Linked DNA regions of Homo sapiens: region 1 is linked to region 2. The links are contacts of gene promoters, found by promoter capture Hi-C in human tissues and cell types (Jung and others, 2019). All regions are on one chromosome and are shown on one strand. The core of a region is centred on a gene start or on the middle of the fragment in contact, and the rest is flanking DNA. Distances in the headings are between cores, read along the strand shown. Region 1 has its middle 22 kb from the start of LINP1. Region 2 holds the start of TAF3 (TATA-box binding protein associated factor 3).

What was found. The method cuts DNA at HindIII sites, captures the fragments that hold promoters and counts their contacts. A contact is called where the count stands out against the background at its distance.
Region 1: a contact is called between a fragment that was not itself captured here and the fragment with the promoter of TAF3 in region 2, in 1 of the 25 tissues and cell types used here (dorsolateral prefrontal cortex).

The regions. Positions count from the first base shown.
Region 1 is chr10:6,713,920-6,717,221 of GRCh38, forward strand. No RefSeq gene overlaps it. Among named protein-coding and RNA genes, the nearest start is that of LINP1, 22 kb to the right of the region's middle. The HindIII fragment of the contact is 3,958 bases long and covers 1-3,302 here.
Region 2 is chr10:7,816,625-7,819,803 of GRCh38, forward strand. It overlaps TAF3 (TATA-box binding protein associated factor 3), which reads left to right and starts at 1,881. Exons shown (of 7, transcript NM_031923.4): 1 at 1,881-2,251. The coding sequence starts at 2,086. It overlaps LOC105376392 (a long non-coding RNA gene), which reads right to left and starts at 1,739. Exons shown (of 3, transcript XR_001747356.1): 1 at 1,628-1,739. RefSeq lists enhancers at 1,557-2,075, 1,888-1,947, 2,076-2,593. The HindIII fragment of the contact is 13,699 bases long and covers 1-3,179 here.

The DNA.
Region 1 (3,302 bases), core at 472-2,971, 1.1 Mb before region 2:
GTTTCTGGGTCGAGATGTTTTCCGGACGAATGTGTTGAACCTGGTCCCTTAACTCTCTCCATCACTATTTTGACCAGAACGAGGAAGTGGTTTTTTTCCACCCTTCAACTTTTATTTGAAGTTCCGGGGTACATGTGCAGGATGCGCAGGTTTGTTACATAGATAAATGTGCCATGGTGGTTGGCTGCACAGATCACCCCATCACCCAGGTATTAAGCCTAGCATCCATTAGCTATTTTGAGGAAGGATTTTATTTTATTTTATTTTATTTTGAGAGACAGGGTTTCACTCCTGTTGCCCAGGCTGGAGTGCAGTAGTGCAGTCTTGTCTCACTGCAGCCTCCTTCTCCCAGGCTCAAGCGATTCTCATGCCTCAGCTACCTGAATAGCTGGGATTACAGGTGCATGCCACCAAGCCTGGCTAATTTTTGTATATTTAGTAGAGATGGGGTTTCACCATGCTGGCCAGGCTGGTCTCGAACTCCTGACCACAGGTGATCTGCCTGCCCAGGCCTCCCAAAGTGCTAAGATTACAGGTGTGAGGCACTGCACCCGGCCTGAGGAAGGATTTTAATACCTTAGTTGTAAATGTGACTTTACAGTCTACACAGCACATTTGTTCTCAGGACAGCCCTGTTGGTGGATATTATTATTTTCTTTTAACTGGTGTAAAAAAACTCAGGCACCTGTCCAGTTAATTTACCTACCTTAAAAAGCTATTAAATGAAGAAACAAGAATGTACACTTTAGTCTCGTGTTTGTTCTTACCGCAAAACATGGATATACGGAATTCCCTGGTCGAGTCTCTGACGCCCAAGCCATGGTATTGACACAGAGATGACACCTTCCCCAACGTCCTTGATTTAACCAGGGTAAGCTCTTGCTCTCTTTATGGCAACTTGTTTCTTGCATGCCATAGAAGAAAAAATAGCTCTAGTTTATTTTTTGAACAAAATGGTCATTTGCCAAGAAGTTCTCCTGTCAGAAGTTCTCCAGAAAATTCCAAGACTTACCTGGGAACAAAAGAAAGCCTGCTAGCCCAGAAATGAGAATTTTAATTTTGATCAGCTCTCAGGAGATCTGTGGGAACCTCAATTTGCTCGGTGTCTTTGAAACACTGCAGTCTTGTGTATACTGAGTGGGTGGCCATGGTAGTGTGCCATACACAGGTGCAATAAAAAATAGCTTATCAACTCCTGACTTCAGGTGATCCTCCCGCCTCAGCCTCTCAGCCTTGCCAACATGGTGAACCTCTGTCTCTACTAAAAATACAAAAAAATTACCTGGGCGTGGTGGTGGACATCTGTAATCCCAGCTACTCGGGAGGCTGAGGTGAGAGAATTTCTGGAACCTGGGTGGCAGAGGTTGCAGTGAGCTGAGATTGCAACATTGCACTCCAGCCTGGGTGACAGAGTGAGACTCTGTCAAGAAAAAAAAAAAGGCCAAGCACAGTGGCTCACACCTATAATCCCAGCACTTCAGGAGGCCGAGGCAGGCGGATCACCAGAGGTTGGAAGTTTGAGACCAGCCTGGCCAACATGGCGAAACCCCATCTCTACTAAAAATACAAAAATTAGCCGGGCATGGTGGTGCATGTCTGTAGTCCCAGCTACTTGGGAGGCGGAGGCACAAGAATCACTTGAACCCAGAGGTGGAGGTTGCAGTGAGCTGAGATTGCGCCACTGCACTCCAGCCTGGGCAACAGGTTAAGACTACATCTCAAAAAAAAAAGAAAAAAAAAAGGAAAGAAAAAAAAAGCGTATCAAATTGTCCAAGCTGAGGCTTGCTTGACATGAAGGGCTTCTTGAATGCTTAGCCTAAAGACAGCCTACCCTCCAACAGTGGCTATACTGTCATCTGTGACTTGTTATTTGCATCATATTGTGGGGCTTATTTCCAGAGAACTGCAATTTGAAACTCAGTTACTCTTCCCATCAGCTGTTCCCTCTCATCCTCTCTCCAACAAGAAAAATAAGATGGTGTTTGGGGCCTTTCGGGGGTTGGGGGAAAGGGGAGGGAGAGCATTAGGACAAATACCTAATGCATGCAGGGCTTAAAACCTAGGTGACGGGTTGATAGGTGCAGCTAACCACCATGGCACACGGATACCGATGTAACAAACCTGGATGTTTTGCACATGCCCCAGAACTTAAAGTAACATTTTTAAAAAATTTTTTAAAAAAAGAAAAGAAAAATAAGATGGTATTAAATGTATGTTAAAAGGATGGTAATTATTATCAGTGTACTCTTGAAAGAAGCTAGGTTTTCAGCAATTCTTAAAATCGGTATTTAAGCCACCTATGTGGCTTACAAAGGCAAGTCTTTTCATTGTTTGCGGCTAATAGTGAGGCCAGTGCATACTCCCAGAAGCAAAAAGAAATAGCCTGTTGTAGTTTAGAAATTGATTCAAATTTTGTTTTCTGAGCACGCGAAAGAAAAACTTTCAATGCTTCTGCCAAAATAGCTTGTTTTTATTCAGGTCTTCAAAGAGAGTATAGGTTGTTATTTCTTTAGATATTGTCTACTTTTCTTCAAATGGCACTTTTTGAAGAGGCCAAGTCATTTCAATAATTCGTGTGTGTGTGTGTGTGTGTGTGTCTGTGTGTGTGTGTGTCTGTGTGTGTTTTACCTTGAATGGTGTTAGGAGAATTAAGCCAAATACTGTTAGCATCAGATCACTGGCTTATGAAATCTCTTCTATTTGTGTGTTCCATGATGAACTGGGGCTGTTGCTGCTGATTTTCCATTGGCTGGCTCAGCTAACAAAGCTTTACAAACTGCTCTGAGCTTGTGTCTTCAGTAAGTTCCAGCTTCTTCTCATTGGTTCTTGTAAAGATGCTGAAGGAGGTAGGGCGTTGGTGACTCACTATTATAAAACTCTTTTACTAAGAGTTGCAGGAGAAGGCTCTAATGAATTGCATACAGGGAACTATAACACACTGGCTCTGCTAAAACTTGTGAGTAAAAGGAGACAGATGGGCAAAGGAGATTTGACCTGCTTTTTTCTTAAAGAAAACATATGAGAAAGAGCAGGTTTGGAGTAAGATGGACTTGGTTTTGAATCTTGGTGCCATGATTTAACAGTTTAGTGGCAGAAAGAAGCAGCATGACCCAGACCTCAGATTTCCATACATATAAATTGGATGTTTAAATGCCTAGCTGGAAGTACTGTATGGATTTACCAATTATGCAAGGTACCAAGCACAGTGTAGGTACCAAATATCTCTTTGCCCTTCACCACCACCATTAATGAGTAATGTGTCTTATTCCGGGGACACTCCCCAAGTTCTTCAGGTTTCCCAC
Region 2 (3,179 bases), core at 631-3,130:
GGGCCACTCCAGCTTCTGCACACTATGGCATTGGCTTGGCTGAGGCTTTCTTGCCAAGGAATTCACTGCACCCTGGCTTTCACTCCTTCCCCCAAGTCCCAGGAGGATCCCTCAATGAACTTTCTGCAGGCTCATCTCTATTTCAGAGTTGACTTCCTGGGGAACCAAGCCTGTGACATATGGTCTTGTGTATAGTTATGTGGGGGAATGTTCTTGTTTTGGGGTGATACATGTCGAGGTGTGGTGGGGTTAAGTGTCATGAAGTTTGCAGCTTATTTTCAAACTGCTGGAAAAAAAATACCTGCGTGCATATATAAATACAAAATATATAGTAAATTGGCAAAATGTTAACAATTGGTGAATCTAGTTGAAGTGTACACGTGAGTCTATGATTTTGTTTCAACTTTTCTGTAGGTTTGAAATTTTCCGAAATAAAATCCCCTCCCCTATACACAGAAAGGCAAATGAAGAGGAACAAACACCCAGGGTGGCGGCGGTAGCGGGACAGATTTGTGAAATCCAAGGCGCAAGAGAGTTTCAATGTTACAGAAGCGTTCAACATTATCAAATAGCTACAAAATAATCAAGTACGGCTAGGACTGAAAAATGTCTCATAGATTTAGCAACACAATGTTCCTGATAACTTGGGGACAGAGTGTCCAGGGAGTAAATGCAGGCACCTTGCCCTTTAGTACCTTGCTTCTCTGCAGATCGTCATTTAGCTGAAGAACCATAATTTCAGTTCTATTATTGAGTTTCCCAGACTTTGAAAAATGTGAATATCATGTTCAAAGTTCTGGAATAGTCCCTGTCGGAGGAATATAGAGCCACTCATAAACTCGCAATTTATTGGAGGAGCACATAAACTAAATACACTGTGATAAGTACAGAAGGGCATATTTAAGAAACCGCATAGTTCAGCCACTACAATCGGGCGACCTGCAGGCTGAATCTAGACTAACCGTGGGATCAGTTTGGCTTTTGAGATGTGTTCCCAATTCTGTATTTAAAAATCAAGATATTTATCCCTAAATCCGATTTCTGGCAATACTTGGATGGAGCTGGGAGAAGGCTCTGGGGTAGGCAACCGTTCCCAGGACACTCGGCCTGCGACACCGGTTTAAGGCTCGGTTTGGCCTCTGTAGGCAGCCGAGGTCCCCATCCCCCGATAGGTCACAGCCGCGATGCTCAAATCGCACACTATAGCCCACAGGCAGCTTACCTGTTTTTTTTAAAAAAAAAAAAAAAAAAAAAGTTTTATTGGAACCAGGGCTGGGATTAGAATGACATGAGTGAGTCAGGAGTTTATGGCATGGATTTGGATTTTTTTAAAAAAACTGTTAAAATATTATCGATCTTGATGACTGAGTTTTTTGAGGCCCCCATTAATTTGGCACAGAGTCCTCCTAGTTCCTGCCCTATTGCGAAGGGCTTTGAAGGGCATGCGGAACAGCTTGGACTTTATTTAATCTTTGCAGTGGCAAGCAGCTCAATACACAGATTTTTAGCTGAGGCAACACCAGCGCAGGTCTGCGTTTGGCGAGCTCCGTAAGTTCCCACGCCCCAAACTTCTCTCTAGCACATAACTCTCTAATATGACTAACGTTATTAGTGCTAACTCTCTAACCTGTCAATGTCGTATCCCAGATCCCTCGTTTGCCTCTAAAACACTGGCGTTTTCGTCACCGCTGTCCCCCAGGTGAGCGCCCCAGCACCTGCCGCCCTGGGCGCCTCCTCCACCTGCGCGCCCCACGCCCGCTTCCGGCCGGCTTCCAGGCCTCAGAGGCGATCCCGAGGAATCGTTCCGCTCCCAAGGGGCGGAGCTTTCTCATCGCCGCGCTCGGCATTCGGCTTATGCTGCCTCGCCCCGGCGGCCGTCCAGCGGGAGGCGGAGCGAGTCCAAAATGGCGGCTCTCAGGCTGGCGCGCTCCGTGCTGCTGGGGCTTTGAGGTGGTCGCCGGGGGTCCGGGGGACCCTTTCCCCGCCGCGGAAGCCCTAGAGGATGAATCGGGGACCCTGCTAAGGTCTGGCGGCGGGGCTGGAGAGCAGTGGCAGCAAGGGCTGCGGTGGCGTCCACGCAGCGGGATGTGCGAGAGTTACTCCAGGTCGTTGTTGAGGGTCTCGGTGGCGCAGATCTGCCAGGCGCTGGGCTGGGACTCGGTGCAGCTCAGCGCCTGCCACCTCCTCACGGACGTGCTGCAGCGCTATCTGCAGCAGCTGGGCCGGGGCTGCCATCGGTACTCTGAGCTCTGTGAGTACCGGGCTGGGTGCGGGAGGGCTGCCCCGGCAAGTCAAGGGTGACACCTTCGCTCTCCCTGTCCCTCCGCGTCCCCGGGGTGTGCATCCCGCACCCCGCCTCGAGATCTGCTGTTTCCTCGGCCTCCCACGTCCCTGGGCTTCCACTGCCGCTCCAAACTCTAGTCATCCTTCGGGTGCCTCTTCCTTATCCGCTAACTTCCCGCCACCAGCCCGGGAGTCGGGTCTTCGCTCCCAGCTCCACACCCTCCTACCGCTCCTCCGCTCTGAATTGTGTCTGGATCTCTCTCATTGTCTCCTGTTTGCTGCGGGTAGATCCACCCCCAGCGTGCCCTACACCCTCTTTTACCTCGGTCCTTTTTCTCCCTTGCCCGCAAACTACTACAACTAGTTGTCACAGGCGCTCCGTCTACCGGCCGTTTCTTACAAGACTGGCCATTCCTGGGCTCCTAACTACATAGACTCGTTGACAGCTCTGCTCCGTTAGGGACACTGCCTCGTCTTTCTGTATCTGTTCGTTTCGTGAACGACATCTCCATTTACTGTTTTTCCAAGGCTGACTTTGTCAGTTTCGCTGATTAGATGTACTTTCACTTACGTCTCGGTTACCAGTGAGATGTCAGTGGCTATCGAAGTAGGATAGAGGGACCGTGGGCAGTTGACAAGATTCTCCAGGTAATCTGGGCTACAGTACTTATGAGTTTTAAATGAATGTCTGGTAATATCTATAGCTAGTGGTATTTAATAATTTAATGGAAGGAATGGAATATTTTAATAGAAGCTCCACATTATCTTGTTGATGTGAAGCATTGTATGTGTGTTTGTTGAGGAGAGGAAACTACCACTCATTTTAGTTTCAAGTCATGATGTTTAAGGTGGTGAGCTGGAGAACTGAATGAAGTGTTTCATAGGATATTTTGTTT